Regions from separate parts of the Homo sapiens genome. Here all the other regions are linked to region 1. Evidence: promoter capture Hi-C in 16 types of primary human blood cells and fetal thymus (Javierre and others, 2016). All regions are on one chromosome and are shown on one strand. The core of a region is centred on a gene start or on the middle of the fragment in contact, and the rest is flanking DNA. Distances in the headings are between cores, read along the strand shown.

Region 1 (6,529 bases), core at 1,831-4,330:
ACAAAAACAAAAAAAAACAAAACAAAACAAAACCAAAAAAACCACTGGGTGAAAGGCTGTTGGGGAACAGAATATTCCCCTGTAGCCAAAGTATCACTTATAGATTACTATAAGAAAAACATGACTATACAGAGATGAGTACCTTGACCAAATGCGTAGTATCACTAACAAACTTGTAGTATGTGACTACTGATAGGATATAATATGAAGCCCAGTACATTACCTAGAAAATGGAAGCCTTGGATCTGGCCAGTCTAACTCAACAGCCACTAGCCCCATGTGGCTAGTGCAACTGAGGAAATGAATTCTTAATTTTATTTACTTTTAATTCAACTTTAAAAATAAAATTGTTATTGAAAAACTTTTAAGTATGTTTGGAACAACCTGGGTTTGTTAATCTACTTTTTCAATAGTTAATTTTATAAACTCTAAATACAGATCAAGAATTTCCAATGAAAATTAGCTGTAAGTGTAAAATACGTGCAGGATTCCAAAGACTTAGTACAAAAGAAGTGTGAAATGTCTCAGTTTTAAACTGACTACATTAGTCACTAATTTCAAAAACTTATATTGATAACTGGATATGCTGCATTTTTAATATATTAAAAATGATATCACACATACATTTAACATTTTCTAATTTGGCTACTAAAATTTTTAAAAATTACATCTGTGCCTTGCATTATATTTGTATTAGACAGTACCACTGTAACCCCAACATCCACTTTACAAGAAATACAGGACATAGGTAAATCAAATAAAATCACAGGAAAACATCATTGCATGAGAACGGCAGCATTTTACAAGATAATGCTCCTGAAATCTTCAAAGGCCAAAATTTTATTTTTAAAAATTCAGGTGAATGGCGGGGCATGGTGGTTCACGCAGTACTTTGGGAGGCCAAGGCCGGCAGATCACGAGGTCAGGAGTTCGAGACCAGCCTGGCCAACACGGTGAAACCCTGTCTCTACTAAAAATACAATTAGCCGGGCGTGGTGGCACACGCCTGTAATTCCAGCTACTTGGGAGGCTGAGTCAGGAGAATCGCTTGAACGCAGGAGGCAGAGGTTGCAGTGAGCTGAGATCACACCACTGCACTCCAGCCTGGGACAGACAGACTCCGTCTCAAAAAAAAAAAAAAAAAAAAAAAAAATCAGGTGAATAGTCTAGTTAAAAAACAGATTTAACAGATCTAAAAACATGCAAACAACCTGGCAACTATAATGGTGACTATGGTGACTTTTGGACAGCTGGGGAAATCTGATTTGATTTGGGGGTGGGGATGGACAATGAAGTCTTGTTTTAAGCTTGTCTTCACTTTCAGGAGGTATTTGAGATACACGCTTAAAAGGGGAAAGTTCATTCACTTCCAATTTAAATGGCTCATGATAAAGTACATATACAAAAAAATGAAACAAATCTTAACAACTAGTGAATGTAGTTAAGGGTTAAAGACTTTTTTTTTTTTTTTTGGAGACGGAGTCTCGCACTGTTGCCCAGGCTGGAATGCAAGGGTGCAATCTTGGCTCACTGCAACCTCTGCCTCCCAGGTTCAAGCGATTCTCCTGCCTCAGGCTCCTGAGTAGCTGGGATTACAGGTGCCCACGCCCGGCTAATTTTTTGTATTTTGAGTAAAGACGGGGTTTCACTATGTTGGCCAGGCTGGTCTCAAACTCCTGACCTCGTGATCCGCCAGCCTCAGCCTCCCAACATGCTGGGATTACAGGCGTGAGCCACCACACCTGGACTAAAGACATTTGTTTTACTCGAGCTACAGATGTTCTCTAGATCAGTATTTGTTTTTTTTTCTTCTTTTTGAAACAGGGTCTCACTCTGTTGCCTAAGCTGGAATGCAGTGACACAATAATGGCTCACAGCAGCCTCGACCTCCCATGCTCAAGTGATCCTCGCATCTCGGCCTCCAAAGTGGATGGGACCACAGACACCACCATGCCCAGCTAATTTTTTATTTTTAGTAGAGACAGAGGCTTGCCCTATTTTTTCCAGGTTGGCATCAAATTCCTGGGCTCAAGCGATCCTCCAGCCTCAGCCTCCCAAAACGCTGGGATTACAGGTGTGAGCCACCTTGCCCCGCCCTCAGTAAGACTTTCAAATGAGTAACTGGTAGAAAACCCACCTGTCAAAAGTTATCTTCGCATTCATTATCAATTCAATCCCTCCTGCTAGTAAATCAGCCCGCACCGTGTTCCTGGGGATGCCCTCGTTTTGAACCTCTGGGGGAATCTACAGGGCGCTAGAGTGAGATCTAGGTGATGGCCTGGAACCACAGTTGAGTAGTCCTGTGTTTTTCCTTGGTGGTAAATTTTACAGTTATGTGCATTCATCCACTCATGCATTCGATGGTATCAGATCCATGTGCTCTCGAACAACCACCTGAAAAGGTTTCTTTCCACCTCGACACAACTTAAACTTCAAGACCCGACACCCACAGCCAGAACAAGTGCATGAAGTGCTCACCGGGACACGACAGAATTGTCAGGTTGCTGAGGCCAGGAGGACACCAAGCGAAGGTCACCGTGAACAGGAAGGCAGAGATGCTGTTCCTTATAGAGAAAAGGCACAACGCTGGATGTGGAGACTTTTTTTTTTTTTTCCATTAGAGATGGTTGGGGGGGGGGGTCTCCCTATGTTGCCCTGCCTGGTCTTGAACTCCTGGCCTCAAGTAATCCTCCTACCCAATCCGCCCAAAGCGCTGGGAATGACAGGCGTGAGCCGCCGCGCCGGGCCCTATGAGGCTTCTGCAGAGGGGAGCAGGGAAAATGGAAAGGCCGTGCCCCCCGCCTCCTCCCGGGCCGAGGCCCCAGCGCAGCCGCCTCGACCCCTGAGGACAGACCTGACTGTGGCTCTCAGAGGAGGGGCCGCGACTTGGGAGAGCCCACAAGATGCTCGAAATGCCCGAAAGTGCACGGGACAGGCTCCATTTCACTGGGCACCTCCCCTTTCCACCCTTCTACTCTCGCGTGGCTGCACCGGGACACCACCGAACGCCGCCCAGAAACAAAAACTTACCTCAGACGCCAACGGGAACGCGCTGTTAAGATGGCGGCCGTTATGCGCATGCGCCCACGCAGACACGCCGCGCACGCGCAAAGGCTAGGACCACCTAGGGGGCGGGGCCTCGGGTTCCCGGGCCCATCAGCTGCTGCGGCTTTTTCCAACCCAGAGCTGAGAGGAAATGCTGTTTACCTCCCCGAAGAGCGCAAGTGTCACCGGTAGGGGGTCTTGACTGCAAGCTGTCCAGGTTACTGGCGTTTTGAACAAAGAATTAGACAAAACGCCCAGCAAAGCAAAGAAAGAATGAAGCAACAAAAGAACAAGAGCTGGGATTTGTTGAAAACGAAAGCATACTCCACAGTGTGGGAACTGGCCAAGCGGCAGCTCAAGGGCTCCGAAACAGAACCTTCATGAGTCCCAATACCTCCTAGAATTTTCCCATTGGCCACTTCATGCTCACCTCCTGTAAATGAAGCGGTAGCCCGCGTTCAGTCTGATTGGTTGCAGAAAGCAGCCAACCAGAGTCTGAAGTTACAAAGGTCACACTCCTGTGCAAACATCTGATTGGTTGCAAAAAGCAACCAATCAAAGGCTAGGGTGAAGTTACGACGTTACAAAGTTACACTTCTATGCAAATGAAGACTCAACCGGCCATCAGTCTGATTTGTTGCAGACAGCCAATTTCCTATCTGCCAGCAGAAAAGGTCAAAGGGAGTAGCCTCTGGTCCTTTTGTTATTTAGGCGAGGAAAGTGAGGGTTTTCCTTTCAATTTAGTTCTAGGAAGTCGGCCTGAAACAGCCTTAAGTTCCCTGCCTCCCGACTCTATTCAGCCTCACAAGGGCTTGATTTTTGGTCATCTCACACTCAGAGACTAGAATGCTCCTATTGGAATTTGTTCAAAAATTAGCACATAGAGGCTGGGCCTGATGGCTCACGCCAGTGATCCCAGCACTTTGGGAGGCTGAGGCAGGCAGACCACTTGAGCTCAGGAGTTCGAGACCAGCCTGGGCAATATGGCAAAACCCTATTCCTATAAAAAAGACAAAAAACACAAAAATTAGGACGTAGTTAAGAGCATAGATAAGATTCATGCGGACTTCCTAAAAGTGAAAACACCAAGATCTGGGGTCGGGGAATCTAAGGCCAATTCGTGATAATTTCCTAAAGTTAAATCAAAGGAAAAACACCTGGGGCTGGGGGCAGGGCACCTAAGGCCAATTAACACAAACTTCCTGAAGCTAAACCAAAAGGAAAAACCCCATCTCCCCAAGATCAAAGACTACTCTCTCTACAGTAAAAAGTAAAGTAGAGGTTCCTCTTCAAAGACTTTCCTGCCCATCTAATTAGGAATAAATAGTAACTTCTGTTAGAAGCAAAATTTATTCAAAGACCTGTACTAATGTGTCCGGAATTGGTGGGTTCTTGGTCTCACCGACTCCAAGAATGAAGCCGGGGACCCTCGTGGTGAGTGTTACAGATCTTAAGGTGGCACGTCTGGAGTTTGTTCCTTCTGATGTTCGGATGTGCTCGGAGTTTCTTCCTTCTGGTGGGTTCGTGGTCTTGCTGGCTCAGGAGTGAAGCTGCAGACCTTCGCGGTGAGTGTTAGAGCTCTTAAAGCGGCGCGTCTGGAGTTGTTCATTTCTCCCGGTGGGCTCGTGGTCTCGCTGGCTTCAGGAGTGAAGCTGCAGACCTTCGCGGTGAGTGTTACAGCTCATAAAAGCAGTGTGGACCCAAAGAGTGAGCAGTAGCAAGAGTTATTGCAAAGAGTGAAACAACAAAGCTTCCACGGCGTGGAAGGGGATCAAAGCGGGTTACCACTGCTGGCTGGGGCAGCCTGCTTTTATTCTCTTATGTGGCCCCACCCACATCCTGCTGACTGGTAGAGTCAAGTGGTCTGTTTTGACAGGGCGCTGATTGGTGCCTTTACAATCCCTGAGCTAGACACAAAGGTTCTCCACATCCCCACTAGATTAGCTAGCTACAGAGTGTCGACACAAAGGTTCTCCAAGTCCCCACCAGAGTAGCTAGATACAGAGTGTTGATTGGTGCATTCACAAACCCTGAGCTAGACACAGGGTGCTGATTGGTGTGTTTACAAACCTTGAGCTAGATACAGAGTGCCAATTGGTGTATTTACAATACTTTAGCTAGACATAAAGGTTCTCCAAGTTCCCACTAGACTCAGGAGCCCAGCTGGCTTCACCCAGTGGATCTTGCACTGGGGCTGCAGGTGGAGCTGCCTGCCAGTCCCGCGCCATGCGCCCGCACTCCTCAGCCCTTGGGTGGTCGACGGGATTGGGTGCCGTGGAGCAGGGGGCGGCACTTGTCGGGGAGGCTCCGGCTGCACAGGAGCCCACGGAGGAGGAGGCGGGGGAGGAGGGGGTAGGAGGGGGAAGGAGCGGGGGGTAGGGCAGGGGGAGAGGAGGGTGGGGGTGGGGAGGGGGGTGGGGAGGAGGGTGGGGGGGAGGAGGGCGGGGGGAGGAGGGGAGGAGGAGTGGGGGAGGAGGGTGGCAGGGGGGAGGAGGGCGGGGGGGAGAGGAGGGCGGGGGGGAGGAGGGCGTGGTGGCGGGGAAGGCTCAGGCATGGCAGGCTGCGGGTCCCGAGCCCTGCCCCACGGGAAGGCAGCTAAGGCCTCGCAAGAAATCGAGCTCAGCGCCAGTGGGCTGGCCCTGCTGGGGCACCCAGCACACCCTCCGCAGCCATTGGCCCGGGTGCTAAGACCCTCATTGCCCGGGGCAGGGACGGCTGGCTGCTCCGAGTGCAGGCCTGCCAAGCCCACGCCCACCCGGAACTCCAGCTGGCCCGCAAGCACCGTGCGCAGCCTGGTTCCCGCTAGTGCCTCTCCCTCCACACCTCCGTGAAGCTGGGGGAGCCGGATCCAGCCTTGGCCAGCCCAGAAAGGGGCTCCCACAGTGCAGCGGTGGGCTAAAGGGCTCCTTAAGTGCCGCCAAAGTGGGAGCCCAGGCAGAGGAGGCGCCGAGAGCGAGCGAGGGCTGTGAGGACTGCCAGCACACTGTCACCTCTCACTAACATTCTTAAATATCTGCTAGCTGTAATAAAGAAATCAGTGTACTTTATGTTCTTAGCTCCCACAATTTAGCCTAAATATTTGCCCTGGCATGCTTATACTGGTCCAAGCAAGCATTAGGTCATAGTCTGTTCCTCTTCCTTATCTGAAGGTGTTTTTACCTTTCTCAGCATCCCACAAGTTACTTCCTCCATCCTTTGTTCTCCTCTGCCTTTGCCTCTTTTAAAAAGTCCTAAGTTGCTAGCCAATCAGGACAAATACAGAATGGAAGGTCCTGTTCTAGCCAATGGAAACTGATAAGCCTCCTCTAATCTCCCCCACCCAGAAAGAAACAAGCAAAGAAATCTCCAAGGTACCACAGCCCCCACCCCCCCCCCGCCGGCTATCGGTTTTGTCCCCTTCAAGCTGTAGGGAGAGGGGAATTTGGCCCAACCCGGGTACATGTCCCCTTCTCCCTCTCTGATTTAAAGCAGATCAAGGTAGACC
Region 2 (6,529 bases), core at 3,514-6,013, 230 kb before region 1:
TGTTGCCCAGACTGGTCTCAAGCTCTTGGGCTCAAGCAGTCCTCCTGCCTCAGCCTCCCAAAGTGCCAGGATTACAGGTGTGAGCCACCACACCCAGTCCAAAAAGTGATTTTCTAATTCCATAGTTTCTTCTACATTTCTTAACTGGAATTTTGTAAGGAAGAGTTATCCTTATTCATTTATTTACCCATTTACTTGTAGGAGCATGTATCATAAATTCTTAATCTATGGGGTGTAGTTAGCTACTGTAAATTTGATGCACATATTTTTCCAGATTCAATAAGTAGGATCCCCATCAAGCTATCTTCTGAATCTTTAAAAATGTATTCTCCTTATTTCATGGGTATATAATTATTTTCTGGGCAACAGTTTGTTCATGGTACATTTGTCTCCAGCCCTAGACTCAGAAAAATGTAATTTATTTTAATGGAGAATACTATTTAGAAGCTGCAGTCTCTGTGTAGGGAGGTGTTCCTAGGTAATAGTGCCCTGGCTTTTAGGTCTTCTCTATGGAGGATATGGCAAAGACATACAAAATTATATATACGTATCCACACATTAATAACTCTATTTCTATATTAAAAACATGACCACAAGCCAACACTTTTAATTCCACTGCAGCACTGCTGGGTTATTTCTTGCTTTCCAAATTCCCTTGTCTGTAGCTATCTTTCATCACTTGCAAAAATAGCACGTGCTCAATCCTAGATTAAAATATAAGCTACTCTCAGAATTGATAACTCATACCACTCTTTTTAAAAATCAACTAACCAGAATTCAGTTTTTATTCACAGTTCTTATCTTTAGCTCAGGGCGTAATATAAAAGCACTAGGTTTAAAACTTACTTGGTCAGCAGCAATCCACTTCTAGGTACATGTCCAAAGGAACTGAAGAAAGCATCTCAATGTGTGAATGCCTACCTGTGTTCATTGCAGCATTATTCAGAAGAGCCAAGAGGTGGAAGCAAAGTAAATGTCCATTGACAGATGAATTGGTAAACAAAATGCATTATATACATACAATGCAATATCATTTAGCCTTAAAAACAAAATTCTGCCATATGCTACAACATGGACGTTATGCTAAGTGAAATAAACCAGTTCCGAAAGGACAAATACACCCATTTCCACTTATATGGGGTATCTAACGTCAAACTCAGAAGAACAAAGTACTGCGGTATTTGCCACAAGCTGGTGGAGGAGAAAATGAGTTGTTCAATGGGTATTGAGTGTCAGCCACGCAAGATGGAAAAGCTTTTTGAGATTTGTTGTATAAAAATATGCCTATAGTTAACAATACTCTTCGGTACACACAAAGTATGTGAAAGGGTAAATTTTATGTGTTTTTATCACAATAAAAATTGTAATAAAAGAAGTTACTTGGGTCAATTTTGTGCTTTTTACCCCCCTCTTCATTGTTGAATTTTTATCCATTTGATACAAAGTTCATTTCAGTAATTCCTGTTAATTTTCCATTTTGTGTCACACCGTTATCCTTGTCGATTTTTTTTTAAATTAGATATGTAAAACAGGCCAGGCATGGTGGCTTATGCCTGTAATCCCAGTACTTTGGGAAGCCGAGGTGGGCGGATCACCTGAGACTGGGAGTTGGAGACCAGCCTGGCCAACATGGTGAAACCCTGTCTCTACCGTAAATACAAAAATTAGCCAGGCGGCTGGGTGCCGTGGCTCATGCCTGTTATCCCAGCACTTTGGGAGGCCGAGGCAGGCAGATCACAAGGTCAGGAGTTCAAGACCAGCCTGGCCAATATGGTGAAACCCCATCTCTACTAAAAATACAAAAATTAGCTGGGTATGGTGGCAGGCGCCTATAGTCCCAGCTACTCAGGAGGATGAGGCAGGAGAATCACTTGAACCCGGGAGGCGGAGGTTGCAGTGAGCCGAGATCGTGCCACTGCACTCCAGCATGGGTGACAGAGTGAGACTCTGTCTCAAAAAAAATAAATAAAAGGCTGGGTGTGGTGGCTCATGCCTAAGTGGGCAGATCATGAGGTCAGGAGTTCAAGATCAGCCTGGCCAACATAGGGAAACCCCGTGTCCACTAAAAATAGAAAAATTAGCCGGCCGTGGTGGTGGGTGCCTGTAGTTCCAGTTACTGGGGAGGCTGATGCAGGAGAATTGCTTGAACCCCAGAGGCAGAGGTTGCAGTGAGTCAAGATTGCACCACTGCACTCCAGCCTAAGTGACAGAGCGTGACTGTCTCAAAGAAAAAAATTAGGCGTCATGACACCCACCTGTAATACCAGCTACTTGGGAGGCTGAGGCAGAAGAATCGCTTGAACCTTGGGGGTGGAGGTTGCAGTGAGCTGAGATTGTGCCACTGTACTCCAGCCTGTTAGAGAGTGAGACTGTCCCAAAAAAATTAATATGTGAAACAATAGTATGTTTTATTTTATACTGGTTTATCTTTTTTTTTTTTTTTGAGTCAGGATCTTGCTGTGTCACCTAGACTGGAGAGCAGTGGCATGATTGTACCTCACTGCAGCCTTATGCTCCTGAGCTCAAGCACTCCTCCCACTTTAGTGTCTCAAGAGGCTGGGAGTACAGGCATGCACCACCAGGTGCAGGCAGTTTTTAAATTTTTTACCCTTATTTTTTTTTGAGACAGGGTGTTGCTCTGTCACCCAGGTTGGAGTGCAGTGGTGCAGTCATAGCTCCCTGCAGCCTCACACTTCTGAGATCAAGCAGTCCTTCTCCCTCAGCCTCCTGAGTAGGTAGGACTACCAGCGTGCACCACCAGGACTGGCTAATTTTAAATTTTTGTAGAGACAGGATGTGGCAATGTTGCCCAGGCTGGCCTCAAACTCCTGGTCTTAAGGGATCCTCCCATCCTGGCCTCCTAAAGTGCTGGTGTAACAGGCATTAGCCACAACGCCCACCTAATTGCATACTTTAAACATTAGAACTAAACATAAACGTTTTTCTTGCCTTATCCTTTCCAGTCTGTTCTAATCTCACTGTCCTTTACAACCTGTTCCTATCCCATCAGCTATAGGTAATGAACCTTTTTCTCTGAATAATCCTGTGTTTTCTTCTAGCAAAAATGAACATATATATATTTGTTATTGCCCATTTAAAAAAAGATTTCAGGCAGGTACGGTGGCTCACGCCTCTAATCCCAGCACTTTGGGAGGCTGAGGCGGGTAGATCACAAGGTCAGGAGATCGAGACCATCCTGGGTAACACGATGAAACCCCCTGTCTACTAAAACTACAAAAAATTTGCCAGGCGTGGTGGTGGGCGCCTGTAGTCCCAGCTACTCGGGAGGCTGAGGCAGGAGAATGGCATGAACCCGGGAGGCAGAGCTTGCAGTGAGCCGAGATGGCGCCACTGCACTCCAGCCTGGGCAACAGAGTGAGACTCCGTCTCCAAAAAAAAAAAGTTTCATACTATACTCTTGCAGTTTCTATTTTTGCCTAACAGTGTATCTTGATAACCACTCCATATAAATTCATAGATATATCTTCCTTTTTCACCTTCATTCTGTAGCTGCATAATACTCCTTTTGTGGATGTACCATGTAATATTCAGCTGCTCTACTACATGTCATCAATTAGAGAATTCAAATTTGCAATTACTAACAGGGATGCAGTTAGTATTCTTGAGCATGTGTATTTTTGTATATTTAGGCATTTACATTCAGGACAAATTCCTAGAATTAGGATTGCTGGATTAAATAGGTAGTATATTAGACATTGACAAATTCTCTGTGCTAGGCAGCCTCCAAATTGGCCTCCAGTTTCTGCTTCCTGGTATTTGAGGACTACCCTTGTGTAATCCTCTCATACTGTACTATGATTGATATGTGTAACCACCAGAATATGGCAGAAGTTCTGGTAAGCCAGTTCTGAAATTAGGTTATGAAAGCCCACACATAACTGGAGCCCCAGTATTAAAAACAATTTTAAAAAAGAGCAACTCATGCTTCCTGATGTCAAAAGTTACTATAAAACTACAGAAATCAGGCTGGGCATGGTGGCTCCTGCCTGTAATCCCAGCACTTTGGGAGGCCGAGGAGGGCAGATCAAAAAAAATGTGTTCATAAAAAAATGAACACAATTTTTTTTAAGTTCACATGACAATTCTTTTATAAATTAATTGGTTTTAAAGTTGTCGATAAAATTAGATATGTCTTCAAAATTGTCAGCATATATTTTTGTCTGGGTTTACTGGTCTGACAGTGTTGTGTCTGTCTCTATTAGATACTTTAAGTTCATGAAGCTAAACCCAATCTAAAACAATGATCTTTGTGCAATTCTTTTATAAGTGAGATTTACTTAATATTTTTGATTTAATAACAATAGCTATATCTTCTGAGTTATTGACAGAATAACCATGTATTTAGTGTAGGGTTTGAACTTTGGTAAACAATATTAACAGGATATAAAATTGGTTAATAAAAAATAATTTAAAACAATGACTAGCTGTGTCAAATCTTAATAAGTAATCTAGGTGTAATTAGAAATTAAAGGTAACTGTAAATGGAATAAATGTTTATAAATAAACTTTTCATGTAATTTAAAATCTTAAATAATATTAATTATCTGGGTCATATCCAAATAAGATATAAGGCAAACAAATTACTGAAAAAATATATATTCATTCTTGGCTTCTTAAAATTTCTTTCTTTTTTTTTTGAGACGGAGTTTCACTCATCACCCAGCTGGAGTGCAATGGTGTAATCTCAGCTAATTGCACCCTCTGCCTCCCAGGTTCAAGCAATTCTGCCTCAGCCTCCCGAGTAGCTGGGTTTACAGGTGCCCACAACCATGACAGGCTAATTTTTGTATTATTAGTAGAGATGGGGTTTCACCATGTTGGCCAGGCTGGTCTTGAATTGCTGACCTCAGGTGATTCACCTGCCTTCACCTCTCAAAGTGCTGGGATTACAGGCATGAGCCACCGTGCCCAGCTGGCTTCTTAAAATTTCTAAAAAGAGTAGATATATTTTGGTCTATTACTCCAAATACAAATTTAGGAAAAAGTAATTTTTGTGTGAGAATCTTATGTGGTAAATTTTTGTCCTAAGGTAAAATGATTGGTTGTACCAATATAAAAGGAGAAAACTGTAAGTCTAAGACTGAAGGTTTAAGAAAATGATTAAACGTCTAAACAATTTGAATAGGATTTATAAAAGATAAGCCTTACCGACAGTTTATTGTATGATTGTGTTGGCTAGGATTGAAAAGAAATTGTACATAGGATATTTTTTTCCTAAAAATTAAACAGTGGTGTTGGGTGCACTGATACAGGACCAGAATCTGGTCCTCTATATTGAAAACAAGAAGGTGTGTTTTTTTTTGACATATTTATCTGCACTTAATAAATTTGCAAGACGTTTTGTTTGTTCGTTCTAAAATCTGTTAGTAGCCATCTTCTAAACTCTAGTTTCTATTTCGGCCACATTTTTTCCTGAGATCGATTTAATTTCTGTAGTTTTCAGGTTTTAAATGCTGTCCTCATCATTTAAAACAGTAATTTTATTTATTGAGGTGGAATTTCATACAGTTAAAAAAATTTGTAGAGATGATGATGTGGTTTGGATATGTGTCCCCACCCAAATCTCATGTTCAGCTGTAATTCCCAATGTTACAGGTTGTTCCTGGTGGGAGGTGACTTGATCATGGCGGGGTGGATTTCTCATGAGTGATTTAGCACTACCTGCCTCGGTACTGTCCTCGTGATAGATAGTGAGTGAGTTCTTGTCACTCGATTTGGTCGTTTAAAGGTGAGTAGCACCTCCCCCTCTCTCCTGCTCCTGCTTCGGCCATGTGACATGCCTGGTCCTCTGCATTCTGCTATGATTGTAAGTTTCCTGAGGCCTCCCCAGAAGCCAAGCAGATGCCAGCAACATACATCCTGTCCAGCCTGCAGAACTGTGAGCCAATTAAACCTTTTTTCTTTATAAATTACCCACTGTTAGTTATTTCTTTATAACAATGCGAGAACAGACTAATAAAGATGGCATCTAGCTATGTTGCCCAGGCTGGTCTCAAACTCCTGGCCTTAAGTTACTCTCCTGCCTCATCCTTCCAAAGTGCTGAGATTACAGGAACGAGCCACCAAAACCAAAACCAGCCAATTTGTTGAGGTAGAGTTTTGTTTTTTCAGATTTCTCATTCATGTCTCAGAGGCTCAACTTTACTTGCATCTCAGTGTATGTCATTTGCAGGTCATACATCATTGCCTTCTTTTTTTCACATTGAGAAGGTCTGGGATGATGACTGTCTCCAACTTTTTTGTCTGCTCCTGTAAGTTTTTTCTTTGGTTCTAAATCGGCTATTATGGCCTGACACTGAAATATTTATCATGAAGGCCTAGAAAAGCAATGTATTTGCTCTGTATAACTTGATTCTGTACTCTCGGCTTTTCTTGATGTACCTAAATTTTTACACTCATAGCCTTGGACATATTCCTAACTAAATCCAAGCACACTTTTCATCACGTTCAACTTCCAGGTTATTTTTATTTTTATTTTATTTTTTGAGATGGATTCTTGCTCTGTCAC
Region 3 (6,529 bases), core at 3,655-6,154, 210 kb before region 1:
CAAGTTAAAGTGAAGAGAGGCTGGGATTAAGGGTGTAAAGGAATAGTAAAGAAAGCATCTTTGAGATCCAGAACAGAATAATGGGTTGAGGAGGGAGGTATTGAGGATAGGAGAGTATATGGGTTTGGCACCATGGGGTGGATAGGCAAGACAATTTGGTTGATAAGGCAAAGATCCTGGACCAGCCTGTAAGACTTGTCCAGTTTTTGGACAGGTAGGATAGGAGAGTTGTAAGGAGAGTTTGTAGGCTTTAAAAGGTCATGCTGTAACAGGGAAGTGATAACAGGCTTTAGTCCCCTCAAATCCTGTTGTGGGATGGGATATTGGCATTGAGCAGGGTAAGGGTGATTAGGTTTTACCCCCAAGGGATGATAAGGGGTGCATGATCAGTTGCTAAGGAGGGAGTAGAGGTATCCCATACTTGTGGATTAAGGTAGTGAGACACAAGGGGAGGAGGCAAAGGAGGCTTTGAACTGGGGAAAAGGGTGGCAATGAGGTGTGGCTATAGCCCAGGAATAGTGAGGGAAGCAGAGAATTTAGTTAAAATGTCTTGACCTAATAAGGGAGCTGGGCAGGTGGGGATAACTAAAAAGAGTGCATAAAAGAAAGTTGTTCAAGTTGGCACCAGAGTTGGGGATTTTTAAGAGGTTTAGAAGCCTGGCCATCAATACCCACGGCAGTTATGAAGGCAAGGGAAACAGGCCCTTGAAAAGAAGGTAATGTGGAGTGGGTAGCCTCTGTATTGATTAAGAAGGGGACAGACTTGCCCTCCACTGTAAGAGTTACCCAAAGCATCTGTGATAGTCCAGGAGGCTCCCGAGGTGATCGGGCAGTGTCAGTCTTCAGCTGCTAAGCCGAGAAGATCTGGGAAGGAGTCAGTCAGACAGCCTTGGGCCAGAGTTCCAGTGGCTCTGGTAGTGGCTGCCAGGTGAGTTGGACAGTCCGATTTCAAGTGGGGTCCCACAGATGGGACATGGCTTAGGAGGAATCCTGGGCTGCGGGCATTCCTTGGCCCAGTGGCCAGATTTCCAGCACTTAAAGCAAGAACCTGAGGGAGGAGGTCCTGGAGGAACACCTGGCCTCTGTGGTTTAGGCATTTTGAAGTTCTTATGTGCTGGAGATGTGGCTGGGGTTTATCTCACAGCAGAGGCAAGTAATTGCAACTCAGAAATACAACGCCACTTGGCTGCCTCTTCTCTATTATTGTACACCTTCAAGGTGAGGTTAATTAAGTCCTGTTGTGGGGGTTGAGGGTCAGAATCTAATTTTTGGAGCTTTTTCTAGTCTTGGGAGCAGATTGGGTAATAAAATGCATATTGAGAATAAAATGCATATTGAGAATAAGATGGCCTTCTGGCCTCTCTGGTTCTAGGGTGGTAAACTGTCTAAGGGTTGTTGCCAAACAGGCCATGAACTGGGCCGGGTTTTTATACTTGATGAAAAAGAGCCTAAATGCTAACTGACTTGGGAGAGGTTGGATGAAGAAAAAGGAGCATTAACCTCGACTATGCCTTCAGCTCCAGCCACTTCTCTAAGAGGATATTGTTGGGCAGGTGGGGGAGGGCTAGTCATGGAATGAAACTGTAAGCTGGACCGGGTGTGAGAAGGGGAGGTGATAGAAAGATCACAGGGTAGGGAGCAGAGGCTGAGGAAGAATTAGTGAGAGGTGACAGCGTGCTGGCAGTCCTCACAGCCCTCGCTCACTCTTGGCGCCTCCTCTGCCTGAGCTTCCACTTTGGCGGCACTTGAGGAGCCCTTCAGCCCACTGCTGCACTGTGGGAGCCCCTTTCTGGGCTGGCCAAGGCTGGAGCCAGCTCCCTCAGCTTGCAGGGAGGTGTGGAGGGAGAGGCGCGAGCGGGAACTGGGGCTGTGCATGGTGCTTGCGGGCCAGCTGGAGTTCCAGGTGGGCGTGGGCTTGGCGGCTGCACTCGAAGCAGCTGGCCGGCCCTGCTGGCCCCAGGCAATGAGGGGCTTAGCACCCAGGCCAGCAGCTGCACAGGGTGTACTGGGTCCCCTAGCAGTGCCAGCCCACTGGTGCTGCGCTTGATTTCTCGCCAGGCCTTAGCTGCCTTCCCACAGGGCAGGGCTCAAGACTGGCAGCCCGCCATGCCTGAGCCTCCCACCCCCTCCATGGGCTCCTGTGCAGCTCGAGCCTCCCTGATGAGAGCTCCCCCCTGCTCCATGGTGCCCAGTCCCATCAACCACCCAAGGGCTGAGGAGTGCGGGCACATGGCGCGGGACTGGCAGGCAGCTCCACCTGCAGCCCCAGTGCGGGATCCACTGGGTGAAGCCAGCTGGGCTCCTGAGTCTGGTGGGGATGTGGAGAACCTTTATGTCTAGCTCAGGGATTGTGGAAACACCAATTGGCACTCTGTATCTAGCTCAAGGTTTGTAAACACACCAATCAGCACCCTGTCAAAACAGACCACTCGGCTCTACCAATCAGCAGGATGTGGGTAGGGCCAGATAAGAGAATAAAAGCAGGCTACTGAGCCAGCAGTGGCAACCCCCTTGGGTCCCCTTCCACGCTGTGGAAGCTTTGTTCTTTTGCTCTTTGCAATAAATCTTGCTACTGCTTACTCTTTGGGTCCATGCTGCCTTTAAGAGCTGTAACACTCACCGCAAAGGTCTGTAGCTTCACTCCTGAGCCAGCGAGACCACAAACCCACCAGAAGGAAGAAACTCTGAACACATCCGAACATCAGAAGGAACAAACTCCAGACACGCCGCCTTTAAGAACTGTAACACTCACCGCGAGGGTCCACGGCTTCATTCTTGAAGTCAGTGAGACCAAGAACCCACCAATTCTGGATACGTTAGGACCTGGCTCAGCTTGGCGAGGAGCAGCCTGAGGGGGAGGGGAGAGGTCAGATGGGTCCATAGAAAAGGAGGATTCAAAGGACAAGAAAGAAACAAGAAAGATTTGGGATGAGTCACATTGGGAGCAAAGACTAGGGACGGACCAATGTGTAAAGAATGCCTGGATGTCAGGCATCTCAGACCATTTGCCCATTTTATGACAAAAATTATCTAGATCTTGTAGGATGGAGAAATCAAAAGTGCCATTTTCTGGCCATTTAGAACCATTGTCAAGTTTGTACTGGGGCCAAGTGGTGTTGCAGAAGAAAATAAGGTATTTAGGTTTTAGGTCAGGTGTGAGTTGAATAGGTTTTAAGTTCTTGAGAACACAGGCTAAGGGAGAAGAACAGGGAATGGAGGGCAGAAGATTGCCCATAGTGAAGGAGGTAAGTTTAAAGAGAAAGGTAGAGACATGGAGAAGGCAGTGGAGTGGGGTGGGGGTGAGCAGCCCTGGGCTGTAATGTGGGTAAGCAGCCAAAGCAGGCAGCCCTGCAATTGACTTGCCACCAAGGGAATGTGGGTGAATGATCAAGGCAGGCATCCCCACAGTGATCAGACACCAATGGAATGTAGGTGAATAATCAGGCAGGTATCCCTACAGTGATTAGCCACCAAGGAAAGACTGTCTTCCTGAGTCCGTGACTGGAGCTGGAGTTTTGGGTCCACAGATAAAATGTGTCTCCTTTGTCTCTACTGGAGAGGAAAAAGAACTGGAATTGGAAGGACAGAGAGATGGAAGGGTAGTGAGAGAGGCTGGAGAAGAGAGTGAAGAGACTGCTTACCCAATTTGAAATTGGTGAGATGTTCCTTGGGCTAGTCTGAGGACCCGAGGTAGTAGGTGGAGCTCCTCACGGAGTGAGGGTGAGGACGGGGCCAGTCTCCCAAGGGAGTCCCCCTGTCCCAGGTTTCGGAACCAAATGTTACACACATCCATGTGAAGAGACCACCAATAGGCTTTGTGTTAGCAACAAGGCTGTTTATTCACTTGGGTGCAAGTGGGCTGAGTCCGAGAAAGGGGTCAGCAAAGGGAGATAGGGGTGGGGCAGTTTTATAGGATTTGGGTAGGTAGTGGAAAGTTAAAGGTGGTTATCTTTTGCTGGCAGGGCCGGGGGTCACAAGGTGCTCGGTGGGGAACTCCTGAGACTCGTCCAGAAGAAGAATGTCACAAGGTCAAGAGATCAGTTGGGGTGGGGCAGCAACAAATCACAATGGTGGAACGTCATCAGTTAAGGCAGGAACTGGCTGTTTCACTTCTTTTGTGGTTCTTCAGTTGCTCCAGGCCATCTGGATGTATACGTGCAGGTGACAGGGTTTATGATGATTTAACTTGGGCTCAGAGGCCTGACAAGTAGTTCAAGACCAGCCTGGCCAGCATGGCAAAACCCTGCCTCTACTAAAAATACAAAAATTAGCAGGGTGTGGCAGCATGCACCTGTAATTCCAGCTACTTGGGAGGATGAGGCAGGAGAATCGCTTGAACCTGGGAGGTGGAGGTTGCAGTGAGCTGAGATGGCTCCACTGAACTCCAGCCTTGGTGACAGAGTGAGATTTTGTCTCAAAAAAAAAGAAAAGATGTTTTAAAGCAAGGCAGAAAACCTAGAAATTATTTTTAAAAACAATTCTTTTAGCTGCATAGAAAATGTTTTTTACATCAAATGTTGAAATAGTAACAGAGCAAAAGACGTAGTTACCTATTTTCTACATGCATAACACATTGGCTCCTTCCCCTATGGCCGCCCTGCTGCGGCCTCGCCCACAGGCCTGGCTATAACTTCAACCTTTTCCTCTGGGCCTGGACCCACATTCCTCCCCGCCCCCTGCCCGTAGCCCTGCCCACAGGCTTGGCTCTAACCTCGACCTTGCCTTCTGGACCCATTTCTGCCTGCAGCCCCCACGCTGAGCCCACCCCAAGGTCCTCCGCAGCCAAGCAGATGGAAAGTAGAATTTTTCTGCCTCGAGGAGGTATTACACGGCAGAAACCCTAGTCCCGAAACCCCGCCTGGCCCGAGGCGGAGAGCGTAAATGACGTCAGCGGTGCGCCGTTCCTTTTGTGACGCCGGCTGTGAGCGCCTGAGAGTCTTTTTGCCTTTCAGAGTTAAGGCCTCACTGGCCTGGGTGAGTTCCGAGGAGATGAACTGGTTTTGGGGTGAAGGACGGGTTTGGCCCGGACGTTAGAGAGGCCTGGCCCGCTCTGCTCGTGTCTGCTGGGCCCGCTAGCGTCCGCTCGGACCGTCGCTCCTCGGGAGGAGTCGGGTTTATAGTTACGGTGTCCGCAGGGTGTTTTCATCTGTGCGCCCCTCTCCAAAGGCCTCCAAAGCAGCGTTTGTGAATTTTTTTCCGGCAGGAAAATAATTGCTGCCTTTTGCATCCGCGTTGGCTCCGTCCCCAGGATCTTCCCGGTTCAGGGACCTGGCGATTTCTGAGTGTTCCGGTGAGCACTGGGTGAAAGTTGGTTCTAGGGGGCCTTTTCTGTCTTCTCTTATGCAAACGAATGTTTCATCTGTAAGTTTGGTTTCGTCTTATTGTGTTGTGTTTTATTTTTGACCATTACTTTCATGGCGAAAGATAAAGATGCTTTTTAGGTTTATAGGGTGTGCGTATTTGTGTATGTGAATATAAACGTTTGTAGACCGCAAGTCTTTCTGCTAAAGAATACTAAGAATAATAATTCATTATCTTCGAATGGAGTTCCTAGGCCTGTACATCCCAAGAGAGCTTCTTAATCAGACCTCCAGAGGGAAAGGATGAAGGCTTTATTATTCTAGTATCACAATAATCAAATTTACAATGAACAGGATGGTTGGATTAAGGAGTTTGAAACCAGCCTGGCTAAGATGGTGAAACCCCGTCTCTACTAAAAATAGAAAAAAAATTAGCCGAGCGTGGTGGTGGGGTCTTGGAATCTCAGCTATTTGGGAGACTAAGGCAGGAGAATCACTTGAACCCAGGAGGCGGACGTTGCAGTGAGCTGAGATCGTGCCACTGCACTCCAGCCTGGGAGACAGAGTGAGCCTCCGTCTCAAAAGAAAAAAAAGAGAAACGAAGGATGTGTGCATTTTAAGCTACATTGATTGTATATCAATGAAAAAAAAAAAAAGCTGGCTGGGTACAGTGGCTCACACCTGTGATCCCAGCACTTTGAGAGGCTGAGGCAGGAAGATCTCTTGAGCCCAGGAGTTTAAGACCAGCCTGGGCAACATAGCAAGACTCCATCTCTCCAAAAAAAAAAAAAAAAAAAGAGTTAAATATTCTATACAGATGCCACCAAACTGAATATTTGTGGGCCTAGTCAGCCCTAGGACCCCTAGTTTGAGACCCCTGGGAGTAGGTGTGATCTATACCAGGAGTCCAGAACTGTGGTTTTTGTGACTTTAGGGTTTTAGTCTTATTGGTAGAAGGAGGCCTATAGAGTTTTTGTGAATTTGGTTCATGGATAATGAACTGCGGAACTTTCACTGTTTATCATCATTTGACTCCCATTCTGTAGGTGATTGTTTGAGCCACTGTTTCATGTTTGATTAATTAATGATTGTCATTATTATTATTATTATTTTTTTTTTGAGACAGAGTCTTGCTCTGTCACCTAGGCTGGAGTGCAGTGGTGTGATCTCAGCTCCCTGCAACTTCCATTTCCCAGGATCAAGCGATTCTCCTGCCTCAGCCTCCTGAG
Region 4 (6,529 bases), core at 1,375-3,874, 190 kb before region 1:
AAAAAGATCAGATAGGGACGTAGTACTAATCTCTTTCTGAAACTGAATGCTTGACATCTCCAAAGAATTCAGTGACCAGCAAGGGAATGTCCCAGTAAGCTTCGCTGGTCACATAGAAATGGAAACGGAATGAGTGCAGCAGCCTGACATTAGCAGCCTTGTGGCTTTACCTATTGGCAGCTACATCTTTTGGAAAAACTTTATCATAATTTTATCATGCATTTCTCCACCTGAAGCTAAGCTGCTGGCTCAAGGGGACCCTTATTTTCTGGCTGGGCCTCTTCAGTCATGATTGGAATAAGCTGAAAGCTGAATGTGTCCACTGGGTTTCTCCAGGCATCCAGCCTTGGAGTGCAATGGTGGGATCTTGGCTCACCGCAACCTCCACCTCCCAGGTTCAAGCGATTCTCCTGCCTCAGCCTCCTGAGTAGGATTACAGGCATGCGCCACCACGCCCGGCTAATTTTTTTGTATTTTTAGTAGAGGCGGGGTTTCTCCATGTTGGTCAGGCTGGTCTCGAACTCCCAACCTCAGGTGATCCACCCACCTCAGCCTCCCAAAGTGCTGGGATTACAGGCATGACCCACCCTGCCCAGCTCTGGAAGCCTTTCTGTATCACTCTTGTTGCAAATAAGATAATTCATTTTGGGGATACATTCAAATAAATGACATGAAGATGAAATTGTCTTTCTGTTTGTCCTATTCTCAGATAAGACGTGTGGCCCCTTAGTTTTCTGTGGTGGTTTTATGTGATTAAATTTGTTTTTGAAAGAGTTTCTGAATATATTACTTGTTCTGTTATGCACATTTTATAAATTAGCACTTTCTTCATGACTGCAGTTGTAAACACTTTCTCATTTGCATTATATGTTCATTTAACAGTGAGCGTGTGTTTAACTGCCAAGATAAGTTTTTTTGTTTTTGTTTTTTCTTTTTTTTTCCATAAAATCCAGATTCTGCAAAACTTGGGGATTTTTTGGTTTTGCTTTGAGATGGAGTCTCCCTCTGTCACTCAGGCTGGAGTCCAGGGGTGCAACCTCTGCTCACTGCAACCTCTGCCACCTCACCTGGCTGTCATGAGGGATTATTAATAGATGCTTTTAGATAGTCCTCTCTAGTGTCATTGATAATTGGTCATACCATGGGTCTACATGGAATTTCTTTTCTTTCCTTTTTTTTTTTTTAAGGTGTGCACTTTCATTCAACTGCTGTCAAGTCAGTGTACAGGTAAGCCCTGGCTGCCTCCATTCCTCCACCCACCCCTAGGGAGACCAACAGCCTTTATACATCTCAAGTTGGGGGACAAAAATGGGGGGACATGATGGCTGATCATTCAAAATTAAAAATACAAAGGCAAAGATTTAAAAAATTTTATATAATTTACACAAAAGCAATGCTATCACCACCCCATGTGAACTTGGGAGAGGACTGGGCATTCTCCTTAGAAATGGGGTGGCTTTTGGGAGGGCAAGGGACTTCCAGTAAGAATGCACCTCCCAGCCGGGCGAGGTGGCTCACGCCTGTAATGCCAGCACGGGAGGCTGAGGCAGGTGGATCATGAGGTCAGGAGTTCGAGACCATCCTTGCCAATATGGTTAAACCCCATCTCTACTAAAAATACAAAAATTAGCTGGGTGTGATGGTGCACCTGTAATCCCAGCTACTTGGGAGGCTGAGGCAGAAGAATCGCTTGAACCTGGGAGGCGGAGGTTGCACTGTGCCAATTTGCACCACTGCACTCCAGTCTGGGCGACTGAGTGAGACTCTGTCTCAAAAAAACAAAAAAGAGAATGCACCTCCCGATATTTGGAATGACTATTTAAAAAAAGAACAATGTATAATCAAAGTCCTCAGCCACATTGTAGAACGTTTGGGATTCTTCGCTCCAACTAACTGCTGTCACCTTCACCATTCCAGGTTTTAAATCTTAAGCCAAAAAAAAAAAAAAAAAAAACCAATCTTATTTTCTGCATAAATTAGGTTTTTGTCAAGAAAGGTTATAATGTAAGTCACCGTCCGCCTAGAAGTATTTGTGGTAGGGTGGACAATACTGAGGCCGGACTCCTCGTATTCCTGCTTGCTGATCCACATCTGCTGGAAGGGGGACAGCGAGACCAAGATGGAGCCACTGATCCATACAGAATATTTGTGCTCAGGAGGAGCAATGATGTTGATCTTCTTCATGCTGGGAGCCATGGTGGTGATCTCCTCCTCCATCCTGTCAGCAATACCAGCGTACATGGTGGTGTCACTGGACAGCACTGGGTTGGCATCCAGGTCTTTGCAGATGTCAATGTCACATTTCATGATGGAGTTGAGGGTAGTTTCATGGATGCCACAGGATTCCATGTCCAGGAAGGAAGGCTGGAAAAGTGCCATGGGACAGCGGGGACCGCTCGTTGCTGATGGTGATGACCTGGCTGTCAGGCAGCTGGAATCTCTTCTTCAGGGAGAAGCTGGAGGCCACGTGCAGGGACAGCAGAGCCTGGATGGCTATATACATGGATGGGGAGTTGAAGGTCTCAGACATGATCTGGGTCATCTTCTCATGGCTGGCCTTGGGGTTCAAGGGGGCCTCGGTCAGCAGCACCGGGTGCTCCTTGGGAGAAACATGCAGCTCATTGTAGAAGGTGTCGTGCCAGGCTGAGCACAGAGGCTCATGCCTGTAATCCCAGCACTTTGGGAGGCCGAGGTGGGTGGATCACTAGGTGAGGAGATCGAGACCATCCTGGCTAAGACAGTGAATCCCCATCTCTACTAAAAATACAAAAAATGAGTCGGGTGTGGTGGCGGGTGCCTGTAGTCCCAGCTACTCAGGAGGCTGAGGCAGGAGAATGGCATAAGCCCGGGAGGTGGAGCATGCAGTGAGCCGAGATTGCGCCACTGCCCTCCAGCCTGAGCAACAGAGCGAGACTCCGTCTCAAAAAAAAAAAAAAAAAAAAAAAGGTGTGGTGCCAGATCTTCTCAATGTCATCCCAGTTGGTGACAATGCTCTGCTCGATGGGGTATTTCAGGGTCAGGTTGCCTCTCTTGCTCTGGGCATCTTCACCCACGTAGGAGTCCTTCTGACCGATGCCCACCATAACGCCCTGGTGCTTCAGATGCCCCACGATGGAGGGGAAGATGGCCCGGGGGGCATTGTCGCCCACGAAGTTGACCTTGCACATGCCGGAGCCATTGTTAACTACAAGCACCTCAATATCATCATCCATGGTGAGCTGACAGCGGGCGTGTATAGGCGGCAGAGTGGCCAGGGCAAGGCTTTGTGCTCGCGGGATAGATGCAGTCTCAGCGGTCGCATTTCTTCTTTAAAAAAAAAATAAAAAAAAATAGAGATGATGGGGGGCCGGCCACAGTGGCTCACTCCTGTAATCCCAGCACTTTGGGAGGCGGAGGCAGGCAGATCACGAGGTCAGGAGATCGAGACCATCTTGCTAACACACTGAAACCCTGTCTTTACTAAAAAAATACAAAAAAATTAGCCAGGCGTTGTGGGGTGCCTGTAGTCCCAGCTACTCAGGAGGCTGAGGCAGGAGAATAGTGTGAAACTGGGAGGCAGAGCTAGCAGTGAGCCAATATCGCTCCACTGCACTCCAGCCTGAGCGACAGAGCGAGCCTCTGTCTCAAAAAAAAAAAAAAATAGAGATGGGGGTCTCACTATGTTGCACAGGCTGGTCGAGAACCACTGGCCTCAAGAGAGCCTCCTGCCTTGGCCTCCTAAAGTGCTGGGATTACAGGCATAAGCAACTGCACCTGGCCTTTATTTTATTTTATTTTATTTTAAGACTGAGGCTTGCTCTGTTGTCCAGGCTGGAGTGCAGTGGCGCGATCTCAGCTCACTGCAGCCTCTGCCTCCTGGGTTCAAGCAATTCTCCTGCCTCAGCCTCCCGAGTAGCTGGGACTACAGATGCCTACCACCACGCCTGGCTAATTTTTGTATTTTTAGCAGAGATGGTGTTTCACCATGTTGGTCAGGATGGTCTCGATCTCCTGATCTCGTGATCTGCCCACCTTGGCCTCCCAAAGTTCTGGAATTACAGGTGTGAGCCACTGCGCCTGGCCCTTTATTTTTATTTATATATATTTTTTGAGACAGAGTTTTAGTCTTGTTGTCGAGGCTGGAGTGTAATGGCATGATCTCAGCTCACTGCAACCTCTGCCTCCCAGGTTCAAGTGATTCTCCTGCCTCAGCTTCCTGAGTAGCTGGGATTACAGGCACGTGCCACCATGCCTGTCTAATTTTTTGTATTTTTAGTAGAGACGGGGTTTCACCATATTGGGGTGACAGGCATGTCTGGAACTCCTGAACTCAGGTGATCCACCTACTTCAGCCTCCCAAAGTGCTGGGATTACAGGCATGAACCATCGCGCTCAGCTTCCTTATTCTTTTATTTATTTATTTTTGAGGTGGAATCTTGCTCTGTCACCAGGCTGGAGTGCAGTGGTGCAATCTTGGCTTACTGCAACCTCCACCTCCTGGGTTCAAGCGATTCTCCTGACTCAGCCTCCTGAGTAGCTGGAACTACAGCTATTACTACAGGCGTGCATCACCACACCCAGCTAATTTTTAGTAGAGATGGGATTTCACCATGTTGGTCAGGATGGTCTTGATCTCTTGACCTCGTGATCCACCTGCCTCGTCCTCCCAAAGTGCTGGGATTATAGGCGTGAGCCACCACTCCTGGCCTCTTTATTCTTATTTATAAGAAAATTCTCTCTGACCTCGCAGGTCAAATAATAGCTAGTTGTCTTCTCAATATTCATTCTCCCCTACTCCCCTCCCTTTTTTTTTTTTTGAGATGGAGTCTCACTCTTGTTGCCTAGGGTGGAGTGCAATAGTGCAATCTCGGCTCACCACAACCTCCACCTCCCAGCTTTGAGCAATTCTACTGCCTCAGCCTCCCAAGTAGCTGGAATTACAGGCATGAGATACCATGCCAGGCTAATTTTTTATTTTTAGTAAAGATGGGGTTTCTCCATGTTGGTCAGGCTGGTCTCAAACTCCCAGCCTCAGGTGATCCAACCACCTCAGCCTCCCAAAGTGCTGGGATTACAGGCATGAGCCACCATGCCTGGCCACTGGATGAGTTTTTACAACATACTGGAAAAATCAGGTCAACTATATGCTAGTGAAGCCATTAAAGCTTCTATCTAGAAGGTGGTTCAGTGTCTGTGGGTAAAAGAGGAGAGAAGTTAGTCATGGGGCAGATAATAAGTGGCCTCAAGAACATGTCTGAATTCCTGTTTTGAGTCTCCTTCCCTAGTGCTACCAGCCCATCCATCATCCTCCTGCGATATCCATCCTGGTACATTCTTGAAGATGCTCATTGCCTGAGCCAGAATATATGAGTGATGTTTTAGAACTCCTTGACCTTCAAGTAAATGGCAGTAGACTTATTGTTGGAGGAGTGGGTATTACTGGACTTTGTTTGGGAAAACCTGTACAGAGACATGTTGCTGGAGAACTTTAGAAACTTAACCTTGATGGAGCAGGCTGGCCTTGTTCCTTCTTCTTTCGTAATGCAGCAAATAGTTGTTCTTAAGCATGTCTTGTGTTCCAAGATTTGCCATAATAATGGCAAGTTAGTGGTGAACACAAAATGGATGGTTCCTGTCCTTGTGAGGCAGTCTAGTGACTTCCCAGGAAAATAAAAATCTGTTCATTGCACGGATTTCATTTTCTCTGTTATGGTTTTCAAGGATTAGTTCTATATGGGGTAGTGAGTGAGGGTATTTGCTTTTGAGTCCTTGTGAAAATTTTCTACTCTTATTATTTTGCTGTTTCTAAAATTGGACTTGTCTATCTTCAGAACGCTTTAAATCCAAAGTGTTAGAATTCTTTTTATGCAAAGTTCTTGTCTCCTACTCATGACTCCCACATCCTGTGTCTTGTCCCATGAGCAGGGTATCAGCTCTGCAAATGTAGTATGATTAAGAAGGTGTAGCACAAAATGGTGAGGTCAGAGAAGAGAGGAATCCTTCAAGTCACCTGTACAGGTGAGCCCCAGGCAGAAAAGTGTCATTGTGTGGGATAACCTTGTCTAGTGAGAAGCCATTGGAGAAAGATAACAGACAAATAAAGGGGAAGAATTAAAATGTGAAGAAATAATGGGTAAAACTTTCCAAATTTGACGAAAGGCATGAATCTCTAAATCCAAGAAGCTCAGCAAACTCCAAGTAAGAGAAACTCAGAGAGGCCCACAGTGAGTCACATTATCATCAAAATGTCAAATAGCAAAGACAAAGAGTGCTGAAAGAAGTAATTCCTTACATAAAGGAATTCTCTATAGTGAAAAATTTGGGGAGCTGAAAGCCTGAGGGTTGTGACCAACTCAGCATTCCACTGGAGGCTATATGATCAAACAGCAAACTGTTTATCATAAATGCAGCATGTGGGCAAACTCACATCTGCGCCTGCCACCAGAAGTTATGCCTAGGGCAATCGCTCCCTGGTGCTGTGCTCCTTGAGGTTATCTACTGGAATATCTGGAGCCTACTGTTCAAAGAAAGCAGTCATGGAGACCTGCAC

Evidence for each region. The method cuts DNA at HindIII sites, captures the fragments that hold promoters and counts their contacts. A CHiCAGO score of 5 or more calls a contact.
Region 2: a fragment that was not itself captured here is called in contact with the fragment with the promoter of ZNF559 in region 1 in 5 of 17 cell types (activated CD4 T cells, naive CD8 T cells, naive CD4 T cells and 2 more); the score reaches 7.5 in activated CD4 T cells.
Region 3: a contact is called between the fragment with the promoter of ZNF426 here and the fragment with the promoter of ZNF559 in region 1, in 17 of 17 cell types (fetal thymus, naive CD8 T cells, total CD4 T cells and 14 more). The highest score is 14.6, in fetal thymus.
Region 4: a contact is called between a fragment that was not itself captured here and the fragment with the promoter of ZNF559 in region 1, in 1 of 17 cell types (fetal thymus). The highest score is 5.7, in fetal thymus.

The regions. Positions count from the first base shown.
Region 1 is chr19:9,320,730-9,327,258 of GRCh38, reverse strand. It overlaps ZNF559 (zinc finger protein 559), which reads right to left and starts at 3,080. Exons shown (of 7, transcript NM_032497.3): 1 at 3,031-3,080; 2 at 2,479-2,564. ZNF559-ZNF177 (ZNF559-ZNF177 readthrough) reads right to left here and starts at 3,080. Exons shown (of 13, transcript NM_001384659.1): 1 at 3,031-3,080; 2 at 2,479-2,564. RefSeq lists a silencer at 2,677-2,816 and an enhancer at 2,987-3,236. The HindIII fragment of the contact is 3,488 bases long and covers 1,310-4,797 here.
Region 2 is chr19:9,555,175-9,561,703 of GRCh38, reverse strand. ZNF121 (zinc finger protein 121) reads left to right here. Exons shown (of 4, transcript NM_001008727.5): 4 at 1-1,375. Among named protein-coding and RNA genes, the nearest start is that of ZNF426-DT, 20 kb to the right of the region's middle. The HindIII fragment of the contact is 7,013 bases long and covers 1,257-6,529 here.
Region 3 is chr19:9,537,020-9,543,548 of GRCh38, reverse strand. It overlaps ZNF426 (zinc finger protein 426), which reads left to right and starts at 4,904. Exons shown (of 8, transcript NM_024106.3): 1 at 4,904-4,974; 2 at 5,204-5,290. It overlaps ZNF426-DT (ZNF426 divergent transcript), which reads right to left and starts at 4,883. Exons shown (of 2, transcript NR_134921.1): 1 at 4,551-4,883; 2 at 3,819-4,143. RefSeq lists enhancers at 2,683-3,882, 4,537-4,606, 4,807-4,856, 4,863-5,598. The HindIII fragment of the contact is 12,585 bases long and covers 2,540-6,529 here.
Region 4 is chr19:9,514,833-9,521,361 of GRCh38, reverse strand. LOC105372268 (a long non-coding RNA gene) reads left to right here and starts at 522. Exons shown (of 3, transcript XR_001753862.2): 1 at 522-1,227. It also overlaps the pseudogene LOC100418883. The HindIII fragment of the contact is 5,045 bases long and covers 102-5,146 here.